Linked DNA regions of Homo sapiens: all the other regions are linked to region 2. The links are contacts of gene promoters, found by promoter capture Hi-C in blood cells and fetal thymus (Javierre and others, 2016). All regions are on one chromosome and are shown on one strand. The core of a region is centred on a gene start or on the middle of the fragment in contact, and the rest is flanking DNA. Distances in the headings are between cores, read along the strand shown.

Region 1 (3,522 bases), core at 830-3,329, 740 kb after region 2:
GATGAATTTTATGGTTTATGAATTATCTCCATAAAGATGTTAAAATGTTAACAACAACAAAAAGGGTTGACCAGTGGTTGTGAAACCAAGAATCCTCATACTCCAGATGTCTTCCTGGTACTGTTTACACAGCACTAGTATATATAGTATATAGGGCAAGAGTCACCTTCCTCCACCTGAGGGGAAACAAAATTATAGCACATCCTTAATGAAAACCATCTGGCCAGTATGATGCAGGCTTTTGTTATTTTCAGAATGCAGTAATGCAATGTGCTTGAGCTTTAACCTGCTGGAGAGGCACAAGCAGCCTTCGGCTGGCTGGAGTTCACAACAGCAGCCCTCCTATCAGCTGAGTGGGCAGGAAAAGGACCTAAAACTACAAAGTAGAAAGCACAGGTTAGAAAATTTCCTCGTGGCAAAACATATGCACAACATTGGGCAGTCAAAGCTTTCTTCACTTCTGAATTCCTCCCCACTTCCCACCCCCGAAATAGTCTGCTATTCTAGGTCAAACATACTTTAAATATAGGTACATTATGAATCAGCTAGAATTACATAATGATCAAGCAAGAAGGACCTTTAAAAGTATTGTCTAATGGAGCACTGACTCTGAAGCCACTTAATAAGTGGCTGTGTGACCTTCAGCAAACCCACGTCTCTATATCTCAGTGTCTTCATCTGGAAAATGGGCATAATAAAGGCAACTGTTTTTTGAAATTGCTGCAAAGACTGAGTTAATCCATGTAAAATGTTTAGAAAAGTGCTTGGCACATTGTAAGTACTAATAAATTTTTAACAGTTCTTACAATTATAAACTAGTAAATCCCATTATTTTAAATGGAGGAAGATACTAAGGCTCAGGATGCTAAAGTGACCCTGCAGTTGGCAGTAATAGGGCTGTTTGCCAGGCTTCAGGTCTCTCTGACTCCTGAACCAGCGTTCTAGAGTATTAATGTGTAGCCCTACATGTATAATACTCCTTGACTAAATTTTAGGTCTTGAAAGACACAAATAACAAACACAGTGCTTCTTTAGAAGTATGTCTCACACAATGTGGGAATCTGTAACATGTTTTTAATTTACTCTCTTCATCCCAAGTTTAATCTTCTAACATCTAAAGAAAGGTACTGGCACTAAATCCCGGAATGTCCAAAAGGCAGGATGAAACCAGACTGTAAACGAAAATACATGTAAACTTTTTTTTTTTTGTATTTTTCATTGAAGGAGGATAGAGTACCTGAATACGCTTAGCATTTAAGGGAAGAGACTTCTTTTCTCTTCTAGAAATACACTCACATAAACCTCAGACGCTATTATCAGGGCTTGATGAATTCTAACTTTCAGTAATTAATACCTATCGATTTAAAATTCAAGAGGCAAAAGAAGCTCACAAAATAATAATACATAGTATTTAGTGAAGTACAATAAATGCAGCAGGAGAGATATAAAGATGTAACCAGAAAATGTTCTACGCTACGCTAAAGCCAGAGTAAGCTTTTAAACAATCTCATCATTTCTCTCTCACAGACGCATGCATGCATGTACCCACATGCACACACACAATCACATCACAGTGTTTAAACCAGCCTATGAGGCCCTGAAATATCTAGCCTCCCGCACACCCCTGCATCTTTGTTGGAGCCTCACTCTCCTCAGCTCTCAGCCAGATGGGTCCTCTTTCCTTTCCTCAAACTCGCACGTCTCCATTCTGCTTTGGGGCCTTGACACTGGCATTCCCTGTGCCTGAAAAGTTCTTCTTTATTTCCTCTAACTACACCTCTGCCTTGGCCTCTCCAGCGAACTATTAACAGCTTGATTTATCCTTCAGACTCTGCTTAAATTTTTCCTCAAAGAAGCTTTCTCTAACAACCCGTACTAGCCTCTCTGCCCTCCCTCCTCCCCAATCAATCACACACAATGAAACATGGTTCTAACCACTTAACCAATAAATATCTTTCTTCCCCCACCAGACTGTAGGCTCAAGAAGGGCATGGGCTTTGTTCAACATTGCTTCCCCTGTGCCTAGCACAGTAGATGGTAAATGAAATTAACAACATCCCCTAAGGATTCAAAAGACCAAGTGATAAACTGATTTCCTAACTTCACTCAAATTTGACACAAGGCATCCCATATCAAGCTGTCAGCATGACAAATACACAAACCATACAGAGGCATGGGTTACGTACTACCTTTGGAGAAAAATTCAGAATGAACAAAAACTTGGATTGGGATTGTATGTATTTTAAAGTTAGTATGTGCAAACCTACAAGAAAAAAAAAGTTACTTTTTAAAACAAGCTTCAGAAAAAGAAAAAGTAACTTGTCACTAACACAACATGCTCACTTCCGAAGAACAAGTAGAAAAGTGGAGGGTGGAGGAAACAAGAATGCATGTGATCCTCCTAGGCTATTACCACTTCTTTCCCAAGTAAATTTATCTCCTAAAAGGAGAGAATATGCCGAACCATCATTCTATGTATATCTGGAAAATACCCAGTGGTGTGATGGGCTTCTATGAACAGTATGCCTACAAGGACGGGGCACGTGGGCTAAGGGAACAAGCAGCATCACGTAGAGACAGCTGTCTCTGGCAATGGCTCCAGTGCCCTCTTCTTCAGGGTTTCCACCCTAGCACCACTCACAGCATTAACTTCTCTTACTTTGGGAAGAAAAAAGTAGACTCTTTTCCAACAGAACAGATAGGAATCAAATAACAAAGATTCCAAAAGATCCTTCTAGAGAGTTCTGCTTTATTGAAGGATACACAAGGACAGTCAGCAACAACAACAGCAAAAGCATTTCACTACCAGGAAATAGTTACTGTATCAAGAGACTAAACTTTCTATATAGAAAGGAGAAGGAAAAGAGGGGGAAAAAACCCCACAAAACAACAAAAAAAGTTGGGGATGGGGAAGAATGGGAAAAAAAGAAGAATGTTGAAGATGAATGAAAAAAAGTGTGTGTAATGGAAAGGAGTGAAGGATCAGGAACTAAATTTTACTCAAGTATATGCATCTGAGAGCTTAGAGAGACCTCAGAAGGAAAACTGCCAGGTCGAGCCTCCTCCCCTTAGGTTAGCAGTGTTGATCAGCCTCTGTCATCCACCAAACCAAAGCCTAGCTTTGAGTTATTCTCATCTAATCTAATTGCAGACATCACTGAAGGTCCTTGACGCAAACAAGAAAAACCTCTTCTCATTTAGTCTCTATTAATGATTACAGAAAAAAAATAAACAGGTGAACTCACTGCTAATTACACTAAGCAAAGGGAAGAGATTCTGGGTACGCCCAATAGGGGCACCTTTGGCTGTGCTGTGTGACCTCCTCGAAGTTACTATGTATGCCAACTGATCCTCCCACACACACCCATTCTTAAAACACCCGGCGCATTACCATACTACAACCTTTTAAAAACTATCCCACAAAAGAAAGAAAACGTCTCTCACCCACTCTAAGGGATACTGGGAACATTTCTGCTTTCAAACACACTGCCTTTAAAATTTTAAAGACCTAATTCATTTTCT
Region 2 (3,626 bases), core at 858-3,357:
AAAGTGGTTGAAGGGTAGAGGGCGGAGCAAGCAGTCATGGAAGATGAGGTCTGAGGGTAGCCAGAGCCAAGTAATGGAGAGACTTGAAGTCTAATTATGATGGGAAGCCAGTAGAGGGGTTTGAGCAGGGGAATTACATGGTCTGACCTGCTCACCCTGGGCAAGTTTCTTGGCCTCCTGGTCTCACAATAATCTTATGTGAAAGGGAATACTTATACCTATCTTTCAGGACTGTTACGAGGATCTGAGACAACAAACCAGCACCTTCTAGGTACCTGGCACCAAGGTGGCAGCTCTCTTGGTTACGACTGCTGGGTGCAATGACTGCCTGTGCAAAACCCTGTGGGGAGCACGTGGTCTCTGCCCTAGAGCAGAAGGCGATGAGAAAGCAGTATACCTGGGCTGCAGTCCCAGCTCACTGTGACCTTCTGAGTAACTGTGGGCAACTCCTTTCTACTCTTAGGGCCTTAGTGTGCCCAGATAAAACATGCGAGGGAGAGGAGACCAGGGGAACTCGGCCATGTCAAGTGGGGGGTGGTGGGGAGGGATGTGGGAGAGGCTAGAAATGAAATTGAGATGGTAAGCTGGGGTCAAGCTACAGGGCAGGCTTGGATGTCAGTGAGGACACTGGATTTCATTTGTACTCAAGAAAGAACACGAGGAAGCCCTCTCTAAGAGTTTTTTTCAGTGACCCAGACTTAAAAGAAATGATGTTAACAGTCAGCTTTCCAGGGTGTGTCAATTGATATCCAACATGCAGCCAGGACAGGTGATGGCAGGTCAATTAGCCATAAAGACAGGGCAGATGCGACAAAGCCAAACGCATTTAAAATTTTTTCAAATAAAAATAAATCATAAAAAACACACAAAGACACTTTCCAAACAGGTGCACTTCAGAGACACCTGTTTGGTGTCAGAAACAGTGAGGGTGGGAGGAGGTATAAAGTTGAACACCTACGTGCACATTGTATCTATATGTCAGATCCAATGCTTGGAAGCTGCCCATATGTTAATATTAATCCTCATTATAAATCTGCAAAGAGTAGGTCTTACTTTCCTGTTTTACAGATAACGAAATTGAGACAGTGAGTAAAGTACTGAGGTTCACACTGCAAACTAGTAGCAAATATTTGAATTGTCTCCGTCTGACTTCAAAGTCCTTCCCCTTTCCTCCATTCAAAAAATTACGTGTATGTGTTTTCATACAAGACAAGTACCCATCGCCCTAGCCCAGTATGACACTGCAAGGACAGACAAAACACACAGAGTGCAGCCCTCAGTCACCATGTGCTGAATGAGCTAATGTATGTCCCCCTCCACTACCACGCCCAAGACCCCCCGGCGAGCTCCTTCCCCACCGAGGTCCCCATCTCCACCCTGAGGCCAGATGACAGCTAAGGACCTTCCAAGCTTGTGAACACTGCAAAAACTCTCCTGGGACAAGACAATAGGAAAACTTACAAAAATTAAAGCAACCACTGGAATTCCCACTGTTGACTAAAATGACTAAGGGTTTGACCGTCAAGAACTTTTCTGGGCTTTTGGGGTTCCCTCTGGGAGAAGTTCTTTCCGAGTGGGACCCTGACTTGCGTGGGTAGCGCACGGAGGCCGGCAGCCAGGCTAGGGCGCAGGCCTGCCCGCTGTGCGCCCGCGCTAGGATTGCTTGGCGCGGCCCCCAGGCCCCCTCCCCAGCTGCCGCCGCCCCGGAGCGCGGATGCCCCAGGAGGGCAGCGGACGGGGTCCAAACCGTGCCTTGCGGAAGCGCCCGGTGACGACGGCAGAAACGCCTCGTGGGAAATGTAGTTTCCCCTGTCCCGGGAAAGCGGCGCTCTTCTGGGGCATCTCTGGAGCAGGCAGTAGGTAGGGAACGGGCGCCCTCCCAGAAGCTGCAAAGCCTTCAGGGGAGACCCCGATGATCCCCCCAAATTAGAGCCACTTCCTGGGCTTTGGAGGGGGCGAGCCGTTACCTTTCTGCTGAGGAACTCCCTGACCAAGGAGGCGGCCACCTCCTCCACGAAGAGGCTGTCCATGGCTCTGGCTCTGGCTCTGCCCACGAGGCCCACGCCGGGCCGCAGCACCAGGCAACTGGGTCTGTCCGGCGCAGTATGGCCGCGTTGCCGTGGCGACGGCGGCGTCGGCGCGGCAAGAACTCCTCCCCTTCCCTGGGGCTGGCGGGCTGGGGCGGGAGGGAAGGGGTGGAGCGTCCCGCAAACTCGCGTCTCGGAGTGGGAGGCCGCAGTCAGGGCGCCCTGGTGTCGCCTAGGGCCCCGTCCACGGCTCCGGACTCGGGGCCTCACTCTGACCCTGGCCCTGGTCATCTGAGAGGCCTAGGACAAATTACCGCTCCGCTCCGAGGCTCCATTTTCCTAGACATAAAATGGGAAGAATACCTGCCTCCTTGTTTCTGGAGGACTAAACTCACAGGGAAGTGACCCCCTCAGGTCCACCCTCAGCACCACGGCCCCCTCTGGGGCCACCAACGCTACTGACCTTGGCGGGCCTTGACGGTGGGGGCAAGGAAGCCCAGCATTCTGCTTCTTGGGCACCGAAATTAAAGGAGATGTTCCTCGCCCCCTTGGTGCCTGCTTTCCCGTAATGAGACTGCCATTTATTGATCACCAAGCTCTTAACTCACGGTTGCACTTTTAATCCTTACAACTTCCTGGCTAGGTAGTTACTGTTGGCCCCATTCTTTAAAACGGGACACTGAGATTCAGAAAGGCTAAGATTTTGCTGAGGCCCACACAGCTGGGTACTGGGAAAGTTGGGTTTCTAACCAAGCCCAGTACATTTTCCCCGAACTTAGTCACCTGGGTTCCACCTTCACAATCTTTGCCACTTCCGCATGTTACCTATTGTATTCCTTTGCTTGGGCTGCCATACAAAGTACCACAGACCATGTGGCTTAAACAACACATTTATTGTCTCCCAGTTCTGAGGGCTACAGACCAAGATCGAGGTGTCAGCTGGATGGTTTCTCCTGAGGCCTCTCTCCCTGGCCTCTATTATAGATGGCCACCTTCTCCCAGTGTCTTCACGTGGCTAGCCGTCCGTGTGTGCCTGTGTCCTAATCTCTTCTTATAAAGACATCAGTTGTATTGGAATAGGGTCCACCCTAATGACTGCATTTCCACTTCATCACCTCTTTAAAGACCCTATCCAACACAGTCACATTCTGGAATACCAGGCATTAGGACTTCAACACGGGAATTTTTTTTTCTTTTTTTTTTTTTTTTTTTGAGACAGAGTCCCGCTCAGGTGCCCGGGCTGGAATGCAGTGGCGCAATCTCGGCTCACTGCCAAGTGAACAACCACCTCCCGGATTCAAACCATTCTCCTCCCTCAGCCTCCTGAGTAGCTGGGATTTCAGGCGCCCACCACCGTGCCCAGCTAATATTTGTACTTTTAGTAGAGACGGGGTTTCACCATGTTGCCAGACTGGTCTTGAACTCCTGACCTCAGGCAGTCCGCCCACCTCGGCCTCCCAAAGTGCTGGGATTACAGGCGTGAGCCACCGCACCCGGCCCAACACAGGAGTTTTGAAAGACACAATTCAGCCCTTAACCCCTATACAGTTACTTATGTATTATTTTCTTTAAATCCACATACATGTTTTACAATTTATT
Region 3 (3,334 bases), core at 99-2,598, 640 kb after region 2:
TTTTATTTGCGTTACGTAAAGCTGAATATTTCTTAGAAATGAGCCTCATAAGACTGGCTTCAGTATTATTCAGCTTGAATTCACATTGCATAACCTAAAAAGGTCAAGAGGATAAAGCACATTTTAAAACAAGAGTGTGTGGCCCAACGATTGCACCTGTTGAGTGCTCACTGGCTGCCATATACTGGACAGGCATTACTGGATTGCAGAAAATGCACTAGGGTCCTCGCCCTCAGGACTTGAACACTACAAACACAGACACGTTATAAACATTCAGCCAGCTTTTTTCTGTAAAGTGTGTCTTCTGAACCAGGCACTGTGCACGAATTTACATTCCCACCAACACGTATATATGTTTCCTTTTCTCTGCACCCTCACCAACATCTGCTGTTTTTTGACTTTTTAATCATAGCCATTTTGACTGGTGTGAGATTGTATCTCATTGTGGTTTTAATGTGCATTTCTCTGATAATTAGTGGATGTTGAGCATTTTTTCATATGTTCGTTGGCCACTTGTATGTCTTTTTTGAGAAATATCTGTTCATGTCCTTTGCCCACTTTTTAATGGGTTTTTTTTTTTTCTTGTTGAGTTGTTTGAGTTCCTTGTAGATTCTGGATATTAGTCCTTTGTCAGATGCGTAGTTTGCAAATATTTTCTCTCATTCTGTAGGTTGTCTATTTACTCTGTTGATTGTTTCTTTTACTGTGCAGAAGCTTTTTAGTTTAATTAAGGCCCATTTGTCTATTCTTGTTTTTGTTGCACTTCCTTTGGGGTTTTAGTCATAAATTATTTGCCTAGGCCAATGTTGCAAGGAACTGAATTCTGCCAACAACCCGAATGAGCTTGAAAAGCAGATTTTTTTCTCAAACTTGTTGTCTTTTCCAGACAAGAACTGAGCCTGACTATTACCATGATTGCAGCCTTCGCAGAACCTGAGCGAGAACCCAGTGATGCCATGGCTGTGCTGGGACTTCCGACTTTCAGAACTGTGGGCTATTAAATGGGTGTTGTTTTAAGCTGTTAGGTCTGTTTAAATTCTTCATGCAGCAGTAGAAAACTAATACACAGGACAATGAAGGAGACAGGCACATGAATATAAAAATGCAATATGCTGTTGTAAAGTTACAAAATGGTCCTTAAAAAAAAAAAGTATGGGTGTCTCCAGATAGCACAAGCTTCCTTGCAGTTTTACCTGGCACCACCATTTAAAGCATAATATGTGTTCCAAAAATGAATTCCTTAAATTGGAGATGAAAATATGAAAAATACATTCCTTTTTTCCTTTTTCGGGAAAGAAGGAGTTTTTTTTTTAATCCATGTGTTTTAAAATGTATCAGTCAAATTTGCTCCAAGTGATGTGATCAGAATTATGAAGTTATGTTTATTTAACAAATAGTTTTTGTCAGAAAATGAAAAACTCTTATGAAAAATAAAATTTTGGGTACAAAGCAATTGGTCAATGAAATGGATACCGTTGGGTTTCCTTAGAAATGCACTGAGAGCAACAGCAAAAGCTTCAGAACTCCATGTCTGCATTGATTCCTCCCTCTGCCATTTTAAGTTTTATGTGCATCTGCAACTTCCTTCATTGCTCGGAGCTCAGTTTTCTTTTCTGAAAACAGGGACAACAGTGAGATAAAGTATATAAAGTCCTTATCCCAGAACCTAGCACATAGTAAGAACTCAGTAAATGCCATTATTACTCTTAATCTACTTCTTAGGGATGATGTGTAAGAAGATCAGCTAATGAATTTTTAAAGTGAAATTCAGGAGTGATATGACTGGTAATATTGGTCACAGATGAACCTAAATCTCATTTTTTTTTCCAAGTCTTTAGAGCAGGGTTTCTCAGCAGCAGCACTATTGATATTTGAAGCCAAAAATTCTTTGTTGTTGGAGGCTGTCCTGCACATTGCAGGATTTTTAGCCACATTCCCTGGCCTCCACCCACTGGATGCCTGTAGCATCTCCCTCTACCCTCCCCTCTCTCCACTGTGACAAGCAAAAATTTCTCCAGACATTGCCAAATGTCCCCTGAGTGCAAAATTACCCCTACTTGAGAACCACAGATTTAGAGAGAAAAGTCTTGCAACAGTCGTGTTTTGGTCATTTTTACTAACTAGTGGAAAGGGTATGCACATAAAGCAGCTGAAATTCATCCTGGAAAGTTCATCTGCAGAAGTTGCTTGAAATTTTGTTTCCTTAGAACAACTGGTAAAGCCACCAGTTGCTTAGCTAAGAAGATCATAAACCTTTGCCCTGCCTCCCTCCTGTTTGGGGAGAGTCCTGTGAGGCATCCCAGGTTGTAGGGGTGTATTTAGGCCTCATGCACAGGGCAGTGGTCATTTCAGAACTCTAGCCAGGTGTTTTGTGCAGCCAGTAGGTGAGGAAACACCAGGGCTACCCATACCCCCTTTCTTGTGTTCCCATAGCCTTTGGCCATGGTTTGGAAGTAGAAGGAAAATTAAAACTTCTCCCCAGCCAGGCGTGGTGGCTCACACCTGTAATCCCACCACTTTGGGAGGCCAAGGTGGGTGGATCACCGAGCCCAGGAGTTTGAGACCAGCCTGGGCAACATGGTGAAAACCTGTCTCTACTAAAAATACAAAAATTAGCTGGGCATGGTGGCATGTGCCTGTAGTCCCAGCTACTTGGGAGGCTGAGGTGGGAGAATCCCTTGAGCCCTCGAAGTCGAGGCTGCAGTGAGCCATGATCACACCACTGCCCTCCAGCCTAGGTGACAGAGGGAAACCCTATCTCAAAAAACAAAACAAACAGACAAAAAAACTTATCCCCACCAGTAGGCAGAGTTGTACAGTCTTCATTGTATTTAAGGAACGTTTCTGTTCATTTATAGAAATCTGGACTTTGCTGTCTCTGAAAATCACCATTTGCCTTTGGGAGATGTGTGTTGGCAAGAAGAGGAGACATATTCAAACCCCACTGGCTAGGACATCAGGAGCTCAGTATGGAATGCAAAGGCCACCCTAGACTGTCCTGCTAATGCTGACTCTTCTGCCCATCTCTGTTTTGAAGTTCTCCATGGCTTTTATTCTAGTGTAAGTTTGATGTTAACATATAATTTGACCTTTGATTCACTCCTATATTGTAAGTCCGTTAAATTAGCCCTAGTTTTTGATAAATCTGCTCCATCCACATAGCCTTGTGGTTATGCAGTAGGAGGAGGTAGGCAGAGAGGGAAGCGTAGCTGGTTCCACATTCACCCTTCACCTGAACGCAAGGTCGTCTCATTGTATCAAGAGGGACTGTAGACCCCAGGTTCCAGGAGACGGTGGTCAGGAGAGAGGTGTTTGATTTGTCACAGTTGTGATG
Region 4 (3,633 bases), core at 610-3,109, 760 kb after region 2:
AGCCTGGGAGGCAGAGGTTGCAGTGAGCTGAGATGGTGCCACTGCACTCCAGCCTGGGTGACAGAGCAAGATTCTGTCTAAAAGGCCGGGCGCGGTGGCTCACGCCTGTAATCCCAGCACTTTGGGAGGCCGAGGCGGGCAGATCACGAGGTCAGGAGATCGAGACCATCCTGGCTAACACGGTGAAACGCCGTCTCTACTAAAAATACAAAAAATTAGCTGGGCGTGGTGGCGGGCGCCTGTAGTCCCAGCTACTCGGGAGGCTGAGGCAGGAGAATGGCGTGAACCCGGGAGGCGGAGCTTGCAGTGAGCCGAGATTGCGCCACTGCACTCCAGCCTGGGCAACAGAGTGAGACTCCGTCTCAAAAAAAAAAAAAAAAAGATTCTGTCTAAAAAAAGAAAAGAAATGCCTAGTATTTAGATTCAGATTAAGAACAAGTAGTATGCTCTCATTGGGTATTCTCCAATAATATAAGCCCTATATGAGGATTGTATACATGACATAAGCTTTATCTCTGCCTTTGAGCAATATATATATAGAGAGAGCTATATATATATATATATTTTTAATTTTTTAATTTTTTATTTTTTTGACAGAGTCTCACTCTGTTGCCCAGGCTGGAGGGCAGCAGCGCAATCTCGATTCACTGCAACCTCTGCCTTCCAGGTTCAAGCGATTCAACTGCCTCAGCCTCCTGAATAGCTGGGATTACAGACGCATGCCATCATGCCTGGCTAACTTTTTTTTGTATTTTTAGTGGAGATGGGCTTTCATTATGTCGGCCAGGCTGATCTCCAACTCCTGACCTCAAGCAATCTTCCCACTTGGGCCTCCCAAAGTGCTGGGATAACAGGCATGAGCCACCACACCTGGCCCTGCCTTTGAGCAATATTTTGTGTCTCCACTTTAGCAGTTTAGCAACAGTTTTTTTAAGGGAAAAAGTTTCTATTATTTTTTAATTATCATTAAAACTATGTCATAAAATGGCTGTTTAGAAGGTATTATATTTAGTTAATGAACTAAATATAATAACAGTCCATGTCTGTGATATTGATTGGCTCAATGTGGGTATCTTATGAATCCAAGTTATTAATGGGATCTGTTATTTTGTAGGTTAAAGCATATTTAAAGAAGGAGTTTGAAAAACATGGTGCGGTGGTGAATGAAAGTCATCATGATGCTTTGGTGGAGGATATTTTTGATAAAGAAGATGAAGACAAAGATGGGTTTATATCTGCCAGAGAATTTACATATAAACACGATGAGTTATAGAGATACATCTACCCTTTTAATATAGCACTCATCTTTCAAGAGAGGGCAGTCATCTTTAAAGAACATTTTATTTTTATACAATGTTCTTTCTTGCTTTGTTTTTTATTTTTATATATTTTTTCTGACTCCTATTTAAAGAACCCCTTAGGTTTCTAAGTACCCATTTCTTTCTGATAAGTTATTGGGAAGAAAAAGCTAATTGGTCTTTGAATAGAAGACTTCTGGACAATTTTTCACTTTCACAGATATGAAGCTTTGTTTTACTTTCTCACTTATAAATTTAAAATGTTGCAACTGGGAATATACCACGACATGAGACCAGGTTATAGCACAAATTAGCACCCTATATTTCTGCTTCCCTCTATTTTCTCCAAGTTAGAGGTCAACATTTGAAAAGCCTTTTGCAATAGCCCAAGGCTTGCTATTTTCATGTTATAATGAAATAGTTTATGTGTAACTGGCTCTGAGTCTCTGCTTGAGGACCAGAGGAAAATGGTTGTTGGACCTGACTTGTTAATGGCTACTGCTTTACTAAGGAGATGTGCAATGCTGAAGTTAGAAACAAGGTTAATAGCCAGGCATGGTGGCTCATGCCTGTAATCCCAGCACTTTGGGAGGCTGAGGCGGGCGGATCACCTGAGGTTGGGAGTTCGAGACCAGCCTGACCAACACGGAGAAACCCTATCTCTACTAAAAATACAAAAGTAGCCGGGCGTGGTGATGCGTGCCTGTAATCCCAGCTACCCAGGAAGGCTGAGGCGGCAGAATCACTTGAACCCGGAGGCGGAGGTTGCGGTAAGCCGAGATCACCTCCAGCCTGGACACTCTGTCTCGAAAAAAAGAAAAGAAACACGGTTAATAACATATAAATATGTATGCATTGAGACATGCTACCTAGGACTTAAGCTGATGAAGCTTGGCTCCTAGTGATTGGTGGCCTATTATGATAAATAGGACAAATCATTTATGTGTGAGTTTCTTTGTAATAAAATGTATCAATATGTTATAGATGAGGTAGAAAGTTATATTTATATTCAATATTTACTTCTTAAGGCTAGCGGAATATCCTTCCTGGTTCTTTAATGGGTAGTCTATAGTATATTATACTACAATAACATTGTATCATAAGATAAAGTAGTAAACCAGTCTACATTTTCCCATTTCTGTCTCATCAAAAACTGAAGTTAGCTGGGTGTGGTGGCTCATGCCTGTAATCCCAGCACTTTGGGGGCCAAGGAGGGTGGATCACTTGAGATCAGGAGTTCAAGACCAGCCTGGCCAACATGGTGAAACCTTGTCTCTACTAAAAATACAAAAATTAGCCAGGCGTGGTGGTGCACACCTGTAGTCCCAGCTACTCGGGAGGCTGAGACAGGAGATTTGCTTGAACCCGGGAGGCGGAGGTTGCAGTGAGCCAAGATTGTGCCACTGCACTCCAGCCTGGGTGACAGAGCAAGACTCCATCTCAAAAAAAAAAAAAGAAGCAGACCTACAGCAGCTACTATTGAATAAATACCTATCCTGGATTTTAAAAAAGAAAAAAATATATATAATTTTATTTTAAATTGGCTTTTATCTTTAATTCTTTTTTTTAAAGTTATCAAATCTTCATTTTCTAAGAGTAGCCCTTTATAGTGTACAAAATGATATTAAGTGCATTATTATCTTCGCTTTTCATGGCTCTGAGTCATAAAACAAGCTGGTGGATCTCACTGTACCTAATTTATAGACGAGGAAATTGTCATTCAAAAAGATTGACTGTTATGCCCAGGGTCAGCACTAACCTGCAGAACCAGTATTCAGTCCCCAAGTTCAGTGTCTTCTACTGCCCTCTACTAATGAAAAGTGAAAATTTCCCTGGGGTCTAATTCTCTCTTCAGTTTGCTGTGCCGTTGTTTATCTTTGAGTCTTCATTCTCTGAAGATGGCTTTCTGCCTGTTTCTGGTACATTAGAATTCTCACTATGATATAGAAATGGCTTCAGTTTCATAGCATAATCTTGCAGTTAGCTCTGAATTGCCTCAAAAACCCTGAACAACGCGAGGTTCCAGATGTGTTTTACTTCTTTCATTCATATTTACCCCCATTTGTTGTTTAAAAAGAATTATGAACAATTATTACATCATATGTAGACCACTTTCACTGATTATATGTTGACATTTTCCTCAGTAAAACATAAAGTTCTTAACAAGACTATACTGTAACACCTTTCTCCAACAAAATCAGCTGTATGTTGAAAACTATTAAGTCATTGCTAATGTTTTAAGCCATAATACAGACAGCCTTATACTCTATGATGGGAGAAGGGAAAGTAGTTTGTCCGATGGTGCTACTCTGTATAAACATTACTGATGCTATCT

The links. The method cuts DNA at HindIII sites, captures the fragments that hold promoters and counts their contacts. A CHiCAGO score of 5 or more calls a contact.
Region 1: a contact is called between a fragment that was not itself captured here and the fragment with the promoter of MINDY4 in region 2, in 4 of 17 cell types (non-activated CD4 T cells, naive CD4 T cells, activated CD4 T cells and 1 more). The highest score is 8.4, in non-activated CD4 T cells.
Region 3: a fragment that was not itself captured here is called in contact with the fragment with the promoter of MINDY4 in region 2 in 1 of 17 cell types (total CD4 T cells); the score reaches 5.7 in total CD4 T cells.
Region 4: a contact is called between a fragment that was not itself captured here and the fragment with the promoter of MINDY4 in region 2, in 1 of 17 cell types (total CD4 T cells). The highest score is 6.4, in total CD4 T cells.

What each region holds. Positions count from the first base shown.
Region 1 is chr7:30,029,658-30,033,179 of GRCh38, reverse strand. The region is part of intron 1 of PLEKHA8 (pleckstrin homology domain containing A8); the gene reads right to left. Among named protein-coding and RNA genes, the nearest start is that of PLEKHA8, 3.0 kb to the right of the region's middle. The HindIII fragment of the contact is 441 bases long and covers 1,859-2,299 here.
Region 2 is chr7:30,769,898-30,773,523 of GRCh38, reverse strand. MINDY4 (MINDY lysine 48 deubiquitinase 4) reads right to left here and starts at 2,107. Exons shown (of 18, transcript NM_032222.3): 1 at 1,968-2,107. The coding sequence starts at 2,030. All of the region lies in intron 3 of INMT-MINDY4 (INMT-MINDY4 readthrough (NMD candidate)), which reads right to left. RefSeq lists silencers at 1,547-1,696, 2,067-2,116, 2,177-2,226 and an enhancer at 1,697-1,991. The HindIII fragment of the contact is 5,437 bases long and covers 1,413-3,626 here.
Region 3 is chr7:30,131,008-30,134,341 of GRCh38, reverse strand. It overlaps LOC105375216 (a long non-coding RNA gene), which reads left to right. Exons shown (of 3, transcript XR_927146.3): 2 at 887-1,025; 3 at 2,859-3,334. Among named protein-coding and RNA genes, the nearest start is that of MTURN, 2.3 kb to the left of the region's middle. The HindIII fragment of the contact is 339 bases long and covers 1,179-1,517 here.
Region 4 is chr7:30,012,375-30,016,007 of GRCh38, reverse strand. FKBP14 (FKBP prolyl isomerase 14) reads left to right here. Exons shown (of 4, transcript NM_017946.4): 4 at 1,115-3,633. The coding sequence ends at 1,273. The region is part of intron 2 of FKBP14-AS1 (FKBP14 antisense RNA 1); the gene reads right to left. Among named protein-coding and RNA genes, the nearest start is that of FKBP14, 13 kb to the left of the region's middle. The HindIII fragment of the contact is 662 bases long and covers 1,529-2,190 here.